Linked DNA regions of Homo sapiens: regions 2 and 3 are each linked to region 1. Evidence: promoter capture Hi-C in 16 types of primary human blood cells and fetal thymus (Javierre and others, 2016). All regions are on one chromosome and are shown on one strand. The core of a region is centred on a gene start or on the middle of the fragment in contact, and the rest is flanking DNA. Distances in the headings are between cores, read along the strand shown.

Region 1 (3,799 bases), core at 438-2,937:
ACATCTCAGACTCCATGAGTCTAAAATTGAGGTCTGATGAGATACAAAGACAAAAGCTGAGCTCTCTGCAAGCCAATGAGAGGCCTTAGAAGAAACCAACTCTGACAACACCTCGATCTGGGATTTCTACCCTCCAGAGCGGTAAAATGAGAAATGTCTGTTGTTCAGGCCACCCAGTCTGTGGTACTTTGCTATGGCAGCCCTAGCAGAGGAATATGCCTGGTCACACTGTTGATGCTGCATCTTGCCCCTTCCCTCTGGCCCGGATCCTCTCCTGCTTCTACCTTTTTTCCATATTGCACTCAGCATCTCTCACATACTTATTTGCTTAGATATTATGTTTGTTGTTTAGAGTTCTGATCTCTCTTCTGCTCCCCTTCCACCCCATGTGAGCTCCATAAGGGCAGAATCCTTCTTTCGTTTAACTGAGGTATCCCAAGCACCTCCAACAGTGCAGGGCATACAGCAGGTGCTCAGTAAACAGCTGATGGATGAATGAGTGCTAAGACTCTCTTGTACTCGTAGGGATCGCTGGATGCATTCCTTCAGAGGGAGAGCTTTGAAGGACACGGTAAAAAATTTCACTGCGTTGACTCCAGGTTTAATAATATAATATTAGAAGGAAGAAACTACTTTCTTAGTTTTCTTCTTACTCTATTCTTCCCATTTAATGGCCCTCCACCCCTTACTCCCAATTCTCCAGTGTTCTCTATGCAATGGCCAATAGCAGCATTTATCCATTTAGGGTGAAAACCTGGAGAACGCTCCTGGATTTCTCTCTTCCCCTGCACAAAACCCAAATCTTTCTACAGTTCTCTCCGTTTCCGATCCCATGATTCTGGCCAGGGGCCCTCACTACCAGCCTTCTCAAGGGCCGCTGAAGCAGCCTCCTGCGTGGGCTCCCTGCAGCTGCGGAGATATTTCAGCTACTCTGAAGGGCCACACGTGCTCTCACTTCCCTGACACCCCTCCCCTTTCTCCCCGCCCCTCCACGGTTAGGCTTGTTGACCATAACAAGCAGCTCGCTTGTATTAGGCGCTCACGTTCTGCCTCCCCTACTGGGCAGTGCATAACTTGATGAGGCTTGAGGGCAGGGGTCGTGTCCCTAGTGCCCGGCTCAAAGTGGAAGCTCCAAACTTATTTGTCGGTCGTCTCCCTTGTTGCTCTGACTTTCCACTTTGTATACCCTGGGGAACTGAGCACAGGAGGGAGGCGACGCGGCTGGTGTCACTTTGGGGTAAAGCCCCCTCTGCTCCCCGCCGTGTCCCCGGCCAGCTCTGGCCCCCTGCATCCGGGCTCTCTCACCTTGGCGGAGACCTCCCTCCAGCGGCAGAAAGCCTCGTAGGCAGCGCGCACGGCGGCGCGGGCCTCTCGCACCCCGCAGTCGGCTACCATGCCCAGAGCGGCGCCGCTGGCCGGGTCTTGCACGGGGAAGGTGGCGGCGGCCGGGAGCCAGCGGCCGCCCACGAAGCTGTCGGTGCGCAGCAGCGCCGCAGAGAGGCCCGCCAGGCGCCCAGCGTAGCAGCGGAGCTGGGCCGGGCCGGGCGCAGGCCCGGAGGCAGGGACCAGGCCGCCGGCGCGGGGGCGGAGGCGGCAGCCTGGAAACGTCGACCCGAGGCGCCGGGCCCCACAGCTCCGCAGCCAAATGCAGGTCGCCATGGCCCGGGCAACGACGGCGACAGGAAACAGGCAAGCGGGCGCGCGCGCACGGGAACGCAGGGGTCGCGGGGAAGCAAGAGGAGCGAGGAGGCGCCGGGGACGCGCGGGGAAAGCGTGGGAGCTGGCGGAAGGTTGCAGAGCCACAGAGCAGCGCCCTCTCTCCGCGTCTTTCTCGCTGCACCGCCGCGCCGCCCTCTGCACCTTGCCCTAAGCGCCGCGCGGCTTCTCTCCTGGCGCGACCTTCTCCCGGGGGAGGGTTGGGTTCGGGGATGGAGAAGGCTCGCCAGTAGATGCACCTGCGGACTGCTGTCACCTTTTCACTTTTCGGGTGCTCATTTGTCACTAACTGCTCCTGAGCCCCCAATCGCTGCTAGAGACCCACTCTCTCCCCTTAGCATCCCCCAAATTCGGCATCCCCGGAATTTGTGCGCGGTCCATAGATGCGCTGGTGCCTGCCCTAAATGCCAAGGCCGTGATCACGCTTCTTCAGTTGTAGCTCCTGAGCACGTAGTATTGATTGGGAGCGATCGTTCTCTGAGGGGTCGAAGTGTGACCCCGCGTTCTGCTGCCTGGCTGCTTTTTTGGGTGTGTGTCTAGGCATTCTCCTAGGGTTGCTCCCGATAAATAACAGCGCTTTGGAAATAAACAGACTAGGATCCAAACTCAAGTCTGTTGCCGACAAGCTGTGTGACCGACAGGTTAACCTTAGTCCAGTCACTTATAAAATAGAACCATATCTACCCCATTTTGTTGTGAGATAACGTAAAATGCTCATTACAGTTGCCACATTAAATTCAATATAGCGTTCAAAGTCATACTAGCTACCCTAGTCAAGCCACTAGTAAGATTAAAGTTGGGTCACCAACTAGTAAATGGAAGCATTTGTCAAAATTGAATCAACCAAGGTATAAGGATTGAGCATACTATCCAACCAAGGTATTTGAGCACCTTTAAACAGCATTCTTCATCCGTTAAAAAATTAGACTTGGGCTTAAGACTCTGAAAGCAGCAGGGAAGCTTAAAACCTAATGAGGATAAAAATAAAAATAGCAGGCGTATGCTGGGAATTTGTGGGTGCAAATGAAGCCCAGCCCTATGCATTGATTTTAGGTTACATATCTCCCTTTCTCAACTCCTACAGCGTTGAGAGTATCTTGCTAGCTTTCACCTTTTTCTAGGACGTTGAATTTTTTTCTAGGACATTTGCAAAATGCCGAGGCAGTAACTTTAAATTTTGACTTTGTCTTTTGCTGAGTCAGATCCATTGAGTTTTGAGCCAGTCACATATGGCAGAAGTGATAACAGTAGAGTTTAATCAATTTCACACTATTTTGCTCTGTATTTTATTGCAGGAACTGGGGAGAACCAGGGAGTCCTAATAGGGATGTGGGCCAGTAGGTATCACAGGTGGGGCTGGGGAGCTGGCGTGTTTACATCTCCTGCCTGCGGAGGGAGTTTTTGTTTTTGTTTTGTTTTGTTTTTGGTGGTGGTTTTTGTTTTTTGTTTGTTTTGTTCTTGTGAGACCGACAGACTCATTCTGTCACCCAGGGTGGAGTGCAGTGGTGCGATTTCAGCTCCCTGCAACTTCCGCCTCCCGGGTTCAAGCGATTCTCCTGCCTCAGCCTCCCGAGTAGATGGGGCTACAGGTGTGTGCCACCAAGCCCAGCTAATTTTTGTATTTTTAGTAGAGACAGGTTTTCACCGTGTTGGCCAGGCTGGTCTTGAATGCCTGACCTCAAGTTATCCGCCCTCCTTGGCCTCCCAAAGTGCTGGGATTACAGGGCTCATTTCTACTGGCCTGGGGAAATCATTCAATTGAGGCCTCAATCAACTGAGGCCCAGAAAAGCCAAGTTAATTGTGGCTGCCTCTCTTGTTCAAAAATTACCCTAGCCCACTTACCTTTTTAAGGTTCTATTTCAAACGGTACCCACTCCCTTTCCCAGATGACTTATCCATTACGCACAGTAGGTACGATGCCAAGGGCCCATAAAACTTTTAGGAGCACTCACAAATGTTTAATTTATTCTAAAATCTGAAGAAAAGAAGTTTTAGGTGGCATATTAATATGTTAATCTTACACCAATGCAGATGTAAAATGTGATTTCTATTTATTGTTTACTTATTTTTGTGACAGGAAGT
Region 2 (4,284 bases), core at 1,490-3,989, 3.9 Mb after region 1:
AGACTAGTGAGTGGCACTATGGACTAACAAGCATATTCAACCAACACAGAGGATCGAAATTAAAAAGCTATAACATATTAACATATCTAGGCCACACAGAAGGGTCATGAGGCAAGATCATCAGCATAAATTAGCACATTATTACAAGGCATCTAAAGGAACCAGGCAAAATCTGCATGACAGATCTTTCTTTCATAACGAATATATAATGCTATTTGATTGCATTTCTTTTAATCACAAGTATTATTTGGAGGGAAAATACTCGTAGTCTAATATCACATTTTACTACCTACCCAAAATTGGAATTATGGACAGCCAGGGTATGTATGGGGTTGGAGAGGGAAGCCTGTTAAAACCATTTTTGGGACACTTAACTATCTTTGTCCATTTGTCCAGAAACAAAGGGGTTTAAAAAAAAAATCACTGAGTGCATTTTTGCTTTTTCTAATTTTCCCACAAAAATCTGAAAGCATTAAATCATTTAGGAAAAAAGCCTTTGTTATTTACCAAACCCACAGAATTACACATCTACTAAAAGAGGTGAAATAGCAGTTCAGTTTGTTAATGAAGCCCTGTTTTTTCATCTCTACAGTAAGAATATCCTAAGACTACGGCCTCTAGGGTATTAAAGAGTCACAGTATCTTCTTTTTATTTTTTATGCTACTCATAGCTCACAGAACCACTGTCAAATACTGGAAGAAAATATCTATATGATAGTCTTTAGCTACTGGAACTGTTGCTGAATAATCAAATCCTCCTGTAATTATGCATTTTTAAACAATTCAGACAAATCGCATATGTAGCATATTACTAACATCAACAAACCCTGCTAGAAGAGTGAACATTTAAATATAAGCACATATACTCCCATGAACATAAAAACAAACCTCTAACTGCCAACTGTGCCTTCACTTCCCCCAAGCTATATACATTTAGTAACTGAGACAGTCATTTCAGAGTTAGGAGGATGGGTTTTTAACGGAAAAAAATGTAAACTTTCTTTCCAAGGCATGGTACCCTAAAAAGTGATTTTCAGAGAGAAATAAAAACTGAAACATACAAATTATATTGCCTCAAAATAGTCCCTACTTTTAAGTAAAGGAAACAGTAGAAGCACATCTGAAATTATTATATCTTGGACTTCTAAACTTACCCCCACAACAAAAGTAAAACATTTTATAATAGTAATGGAACTGTCTTGTGCTTTTTCACCCCTGTAAAAATCACTGACAAATGCTGTTCATTTAAAAATATATATATATATAGATAGCTTTGATGGGATAAAAAAATATCCTACTTGTATTCTCTTTCTAGGTCATAAACTACATTGGATGTAATAGGCTGTATAAATGAACAATCAGGAGGTTTCCGTCTAACTGTATGGGAAGTGTATTCACCACATCCTGCTATATAAATAACCCTCACTTCAAGTCAAATTCATATTATCTAATTTTTGCATTTCTCACCCAGAGAAGCTCTTCGCAGGACCTGGACCTAGATTCTCCTCTCATCACACAACTGTGAGTAGGAAATTCAAGCAATGAAAGGTTTTGCTACATTTTCAAAGGTACTTTTAAGATAAAATAACTTTCTAAAATGAATAAACCTGGGCAGTGTGACCTAAAAGCCACATAAATAATTTATTTGTGGCTGTCATGTTTTAATCACTGGACTGTTTTCAGAGGCTTAAAAAATTTAATGGTTTTTGTTATACAAAAGCAACTAGGTTTTCCATGAAACATTAGCTGTCACATTAATACAAGGTTTTATCATTAATTACAATGGATCACACAGGAGTTTATATCTACAAAATGATTGTTAAATATCTGAATTTCCAAACCATTTCAAAATAAAAATGAAACCTGGTCCTAGTAAACTTTACATGAATTAAAGATCCATTTACAAAACAGAAAATTAAATGTAAAAAAATAACCTCAATTTAAAACATTTGTAGATAAAACATTCAACACACTTTTTCATCAAAAAATGCAAATTAAAATATTAAACATAGGTAAACAGTGCCATCTTTTGGTATATTTAGGAACTGAGCTAAATTGTACAAAAACATCTTTAACAGATGAAAGGTGAGTAGAGCAAAGAATTCAAAAACCATCAGTTTATCATTTTATAACATTTAAGCTTTATAAATATATTAGCTTTTTTGGAGATGGGGTCTTGCTATGTTGCACAGGACAGACTCAAATTCCTGGCCTCAGGTAATTCACCTGTCTCAGCCTCCTGAGTAGCTAGCATTACAGGCACAAGTACCAAGCAGGCTATTTTTAAACTTATAAATATTTCCAAAAACATATTACCTCACATTTGTTTTCACTTCAATTTCATGAGATTAATAGAGCATCATTACATTTTAAAGACACTGAGGCTCAGAACATTTTAGTAATTGATCCCAAAATCCCTCAGTTAAAAATGATTGAGCCATCGCTGGCTTAAAATTGCTCGTTTTTACATTCCAACATTAATTCATTAAGCTTAGATAATGAGCCAAGTTATATAATTATTCTGTATTATAAGCAATGAACAAATTTTTATATTAGTTAAGATTCTGTAAAAATCGTTTGATTGCTTTTAGTATTTTTTGTATAATTTGGAAAGGAAAAGATACTTATGTTTATTAAATGAAGAATACACATTGACTACATTCACACAGCTGCTTACACTTCACAAATGCAAAAACTTTTAATCCAATATAGTATTCTTCATATCTCTATGTTAATGAGAAAAAAAAAAAGCCCTCGTTGGCTAGGTGTGGTGGCTCATGCCTGTAATCCCAGTGACTAGGGAATTTGAGATGGGAGGATCAGTTGAGGTCAGGAGTTCAAGACCAGACTGGGCAACACAGTGAGACACCATCTCTATAAAACTAAAAAAAAATTAACAAAAATATTTTTAAAAGCCCTTGTTTATGGCTTGCACATGATTTTACACCACAATATAAAAAGCCGTTACAAATGGAAATGATAAGCTTCAAATACTCTCCCTAAAGCTTCTCTGGCTTAATTTTGATCTTAGATGTGTCCATATACCATTTTCAATGTCTTCCACTTTTGTATTGTTCAGTGATTTTCTGAATAGTTTTATTAAGCCATAACATTTATTCCAGAACACTCTCACAATTCCTTCATTTTTGTAAGCTAGCTAATAATGAACTTCCTCATGGAGAGAAAAAAAATATTCTCAATGATCTATCTTTATCTTTGATTCACTTGTTACTAAGAATTTTACTCAAACTGCAATCATTAGTTCTTTACACAGCAGACTTGAAGATCATGGTTAAAACACAATCATTCCATCTTATATCATATAGCAATTCAATTAAAAAGAACATCAGAAAAAAGACAAGTCAATAAGATCACCAAAAAGGCTACTGAAAACACTGCTGAAGGAGTGAAAGCAGAGAAAGAGTCAATGGGATGAGCCATAAGCACTACATCTTCTGTCAAATGGAACTAGGTGATCAAAAACAATTAGACACTAACTCAGAAATGTAGTTACTTCACCCATTAGGCCTTACCTCTTGTCTACCGTATATTCAAGAAAAAGCACCGTATAGGACATGAGAATTGATAAACTTAGCTGTCTCTAAGTATGATTTGCCGGGAAAGATTGAAATAACATGCTAACAATGAATTTTTTTTTTTTTTTAAGATGGAGTCTCACTCTATTGCCCAGGCTGGAGTGTAGTGGCATGATCTTGGCTCACTGCAGCCTCCACCTTCCAGGTCAAAGCAATTCTTCTGCCTCAGCCTCCCGAGTAGCTGGGATTACAGGCGCCCACCACCATAGCCGATTAATTTTTTTTGTATTTTCAGTAGGGACGAGGTTTCACCATGTTGGTCAGGCTCTTCTGGAACTCCTAACCTCAAGTGATCCGCCCACCTCAGCCTGGGATTACAGGCGTGAGCCACCAGGCCTGACCAACAGTGAATTTTTTGATGGATTTAATTTCATCCCCAGGCTCTCCTTTTTTCATCTTTAGTAGGGCTGGATGCTGTCTACCCTCAAGAGTAAATAGCATTCCAGATCTTCTCCAGAGACTCTAAATTTCCTTTCCTTATTTCTGAGTGGATGGAAATCCCATTTTGAAGGCCCTTATTATTTCTCTCTTCATTATTCCATGGGTAGAAAAGAAAAAAAACAAAGAGAATGCCACTCTCATTCCCACCCTTACAATATGCCTCTTTACCAACCGTTGCAAATAACTCAAGTGAATACAAGTAATACTCCAAGATAATCTCTCTGCGAGGGCACAGGAACACACACAA
Region 3 (4,361 bases), core at 631-3,130, 4.0 Mb after region 1:
TAAAATAAACTCCCTTCTCCCTAGTTAATAGGAGATCAGGAAAGGGATAGAACTTGATAGATGATACCTTTTGTCTCAAAACCAAAGACGAGACAGGTATTTTGAACAAAGGAAGAAGGAAAATGAAATAAAATAGAAATAAAAAGAATGAAGACCAAGTTAAGTACATCAGTGAAATAACCCAAAGGAGGGAATTTCCAGCTTCATAGCAGACCACAGCTGAACCTCACTTGGACTCTGGCCATTAGGTTAGTGGGTCAGGGCATGAGGATTTTAAGAAAAGTTAGTTTTCAGCTGTAACTATGTATTAACTCAATCTGGCTCATCATTTTTGAATCCATTCAAATATTTATTGAGTGCCTGCTATGTACCAAGCCCTGCATGGGCATATGATTATAAAGGCAACATGGTGGTCCCTGCTATCAACAAGTATACAGGCAAGCAAACAATGGGAAACAATGGGAAATTTATTATGAATGAATACTGCAGTGAGCCCAGGGTGGGTCCAGGAGGGCATGAAGAGGGGTGCATGGAGAAGTGGGTAGAGGTCTGGAGAGATTGTTAAGAGGTGACAGCTCTTGAGCTGTGTTATGCAGATAAGGGAGTGAAGTCAGAGGAGTTGAATGGGCTGTCCAAATAAGAACAGAAGCAGAGATTTTGAAAAGTCCTGGTTCGGAGGTGCTTGTGAGTAGTGAGGGGCTTTGAGTACAGAATGATGAGGAAGGGGGACAGCTTATGGTCCCTTTCATGCCAAGCTAAATGCACTCCTAGTGTCAACCTGTCATTGACGAGGTTACCTAAGATGAAGGGCTCCAAAGTCTTCTCCAGCTTTTTACAGTGAGAGGTAAGTGCAGAATCTAATGAGAGTAGCATCCTCTGTGAGCCGCTGGGTGAGAAGCCTAATCACAAACCAGACTATCTCAGAGAAGAATAACTGGTGAACTGAACAGGTGTGCAGAAAACTCCAACCGTATCCCCATCCTTTCTCACTTGGATTACTAGAATGGACTCCAAAGTTGGTCATTTTTCTTCTTTTGATTTCTAAACTAGGATATTTTAATTTCACTATAACCTGTATTTGTGGACTAGTTTGGGGATCTAACCACATATATATGAATGTTTCTAAAGGAAAAGCAATCTCACTGACTTAGAACTTTTGGAATAAAAGCCATTTAACCTATGAACTGGTGACTGCGGTCCCTCCTATAGAAACTTATTTTGTTTTTAAGAATAATTTAAGACAATTAAAAAACAAATAGATGCACATGGTTTTTCAAAACCCACTAGCTCAGAGAGCCTATAATGGCTACCTTGCTGGGGGAACCACCTTTACTATTTCTCCTGGTGGTCACCTCTGTATCTCTAAGTGATATGCTCACACAGCTATTTCTGGTTTAGCCATTTTAGTTCTAATGTACTGACATCCTTCAATGATACGATACCCATCTCACTTCTTCCATTTCCCCCCAATAGTTACATAATTAGTTTTGGTTAAATAAAAAACCAGTGCTATACATCATGACTGTATAAACAGTATTCACTGCAGTATCAAATAATATACTGAGACTATATATCCTTTCTTGTAAAGCTTGTTTGTTTTCTTTGGAGTTTCCAATTGTCTTTCTAGCTCGTTGGCACCATTTGCCCTCACCAAATCCTCAAATTTTTTCCAACTCTCCATCATATCAGATATTCTACCAAATCTCCACTTTTCCTCCTGCCTGAAGCTCTCTGGCCTCCTGATATCCAGACCTGAGACTAGCTAGGGGTTCTCCAGGTCTGCTGCATGGCTGTCATTCTGCAGTTTTCCTTCACTGCATACACTGTGCTGATGCCCGAGGTGAACATCTGTCACTTGATTTGAGTGCCCAGCACCTGAACTTTCTCTCCTATGTTTAGAAAACCCCTCACTTTATCAGTCTTGGTGTAAGGTAGGCCCACTTACTATAGAAGATGAAGTATCTTTTTGTGTGCTGATGATTTGAATGAAGGCCGGCTGCCCTTAGGTGGCTTCAGGATGGACAATGGTCACTGGAAAAACCAAGGCAGGATCAGAGGGTCAGAACTTTCAGACCCATCTCTAAACCTCCAAGGAGAGGAGAGGGGCTGAAGGTTAAGTTGATCCCCAATGGCCAGTGATTTAATCAATCATGCCAACATAATGAAGCTTCCCAAAAAACCCAAGAGGACAGGGTACGGAGAGCTTCCAGGTAGCTGAACACAAGGAGGTTCCTGGAGGGTGACGCATGCAAGGAGGTCATGGAAGCTGCGTGCTCCTTCTCACATGCCTTGCCCTATGCACCTCTTCATCTGCATCCTCTGTGATATCGTTTATAATAAACCAGTAAACCTCAATGTTTCCTGAGTTCTGTGAGCTGCTCTAGCAAATTAACTGAATCTGAGGAATGGGCCGCGGGAACCCCGATTTACAGCAGGTTGGCCAGAGGCACAGGTAAAACAACCTGGGGCTTGCAACTGGCATCAGAAGTTGGGGGTGGTCTTGTGAGACTGAACCCTCAATCTGTGTGATGTGACACTTCTCTGGGTAGATGGTGTCAGAATTGAATTGGAGGACGCCCAGCTAGTGTCCGCTGCAGAATGAATTGCTTGCTTGATGCCTGGGGAAACCCCCCACACATCTGGTGTCACAACTGTAATATGCGAAAATAGTGGGAGAAACCGAGTTTGTTCATTCCTCAGCATTTTCAGAATTGGTGTCAGAATCGGGACTGCTAGAACATCCCTAGCTCATGTTTGGGAAGAAAACAGATAAAGGGGTTGGGGGGTGAGAAACCTTTGATTCCTGGGTGCCCATGTGGTCACCCATGGTATGGAGTGGCAGCTCCATACCCATGGTATGGAGTGGCATCAGTCACTAAAGGTAAAAGTTACCAATGGAATTTAGAGGTGGATCAATCTAACTCCCTGGAAGGTGGTTTGCTGAATGCATGAAGAAATGCGAACTAATAAGAAAAAAACAAAATATGCAACCCTTTGGTTATTGTTATCTGTAATAGCTAGAATGAAAGTAAAAAGAAAGTGCTGGGCCAAACCTCGATGCCAGACCAAGTTCAGATTTCAGTCAATCTATGCTTCAGCCAGTAGACTCACAGAACCTCGCTCCCACAAGGGAAAAATTATGCAGCGACATCAGAAAGCACCCCTAAGGACTTTGGGCACCAAGAAGGCAGTGTCAGGAAAGGGCAAAATCAAGAAGCCATTGAAAGCAGAGGGTATAGTGTGAAGGAATTGTTTCATTTTTTAGATTGGTATCATCAGCTTCCTGAGGAGGCTTTACTAAAATGCACTGTGAGAGTAATTTAGGAGCAGTGTCTTTGGTTTTGAATGTTGGAAGAAGGGGGACTGCCTGACTCCACCTATAAACGTCAAGCTGAAACAGCTGATACACTTTGTATTCATGCCATGTGGGGCCTGGGTTTATGACCACCAGATTATTCAAGCACTGAATATGCCTTGCTACCCAAGTCATGGTAAATGATGCGATTAGGGGCGCCCCTTTAATGTGGATGCCCCATTTAACCTTGTTGCCACAAAATCGAGAGATAGTTCAAGAAGCCTTATGAGATGTACTTGCTCAGTTTCCCCTCATGAGTCTTACAGATGCTAATACAAACATTAGGTTAATTAACAAGAGAATGATGAAGGGTAGGGGGGAAGAGTCACAGGACTCCTCACAGGAAGGTGGAAATTTTTTATGGTTGTTAAGAAATAAGGTGAATAAGAACACACTGGGCCGGGCGCGGTTGTTCACACCTGTAATCCCAGCACTTTGGGAGGCCAAGGCAGGTGGGTCACGAGGTCAGGAGCTCAAGACCAGCCTGGCCAAGACGGTGAAACCCCATCTCTACCAAAAATACAAAAATTGGCTGGGCGTGGTGGCAGGCAGCTGAAATCCCAGCTACTTGGGAGGCTGAGGCAGAGAACTGCTTGAACCCGGCAGGCGGAGATTGCAGTGAGCAGAGATTGCGCCACTGCACTCGAGCCTGGGCGACAGAGCCAGACTCCGTCTCAAAAAAAAAAAAAAAGAACACACCGATAGGGATGAAACAGAGGAAAAACAAAGAGAAGAGTCATGGGACTTTTCCCAGTATGGTGGAAATCTTTAGATGGCTATTAAGAAATGGGATGAATAAAACAAATTAGCAAGAAAAAACCCAAAAAATCCCACCAAAAAGTCAGCTAAGAACATGAAAAAGTGCTCAGCATCACTAATGATCAGGGAAATGCAAATCAAAACCACCATGCAATACTACCTTACTTCTGCAAGAATGGCCATAATCAAAACATCAAAAAATAATTGCTGGCCATGGTGGCTCACACCTGTAATGCCAGCATTTTGG

Evidence for each region. The method cuts DNA at HindIII sites, captures the fragments that hold promoters and counts their contacts. A CHiCAGO score of 5 or more calls a contact.
Region 2: a fragment that was not itself captured here is called in contact with the fragment with the promoter of ALDH5A1 in region 1 in 1 of 17 cell types (fetal thymus); the score reaches 5.5 in fetal thymus.
Region 3: a fragment that was not itself captured here is called in contact with the fragment with the promoter of ALDH5A1 in region 1 in 1 of 17 cell types (erythroblasts); the score reaches 5.6 in erythroblasts.

The regions. Positions count from the first base shown.
Region 1 is chr6:24,492,857-24,496,655 of GRCh38, reverse strand. It overlaps ALDH5A1 (aldehyde dehydrogenase 5 family member A1), which reads right to left and starts at 1,687. Exons shown (of 10, transcript NM_001080.3): 1 at 1,306-1,687. The coding sequence starts at 1,659. It also overlaps a transcript of GPLD1 not described here. RefSeq lists a silencer at 1,292-1,681. The HindIII fragment of the contact is 3,166 bases long and covers 1-2,678 here.
Region 2 is chr6:20,562,122-20,566,405 of GRCh38, reverse strand. The region is part of intron 4 of CDKAL1 (CDKAL1 threonylcarbamoyladenosine tRNA methylthiotransferase); the gene reads right to left. Among named protein-coding and RNA genes, the nearest start is that of CDKAL1, 30 kb to the right of the region's middle. The HindIII fragment of the contact is 494 bases long and covers 2,493-2,986 here.
Region 3 is chr6:20,466,371-20,470,731 of GRCh38, reverse strand. All of the region lies in intron 1 of E2F3 (E2F transcription factor 3), which reads right to left. Among named protein-coding and RNA genes, the nearest start is that of E2F3-IT1, 31 kb to the right of the region's middle. RefSeq lists an enhancer at 3,169-3,810. The HindIII fragment of the contact is 579 bases long and covers 1,591-2,169 here.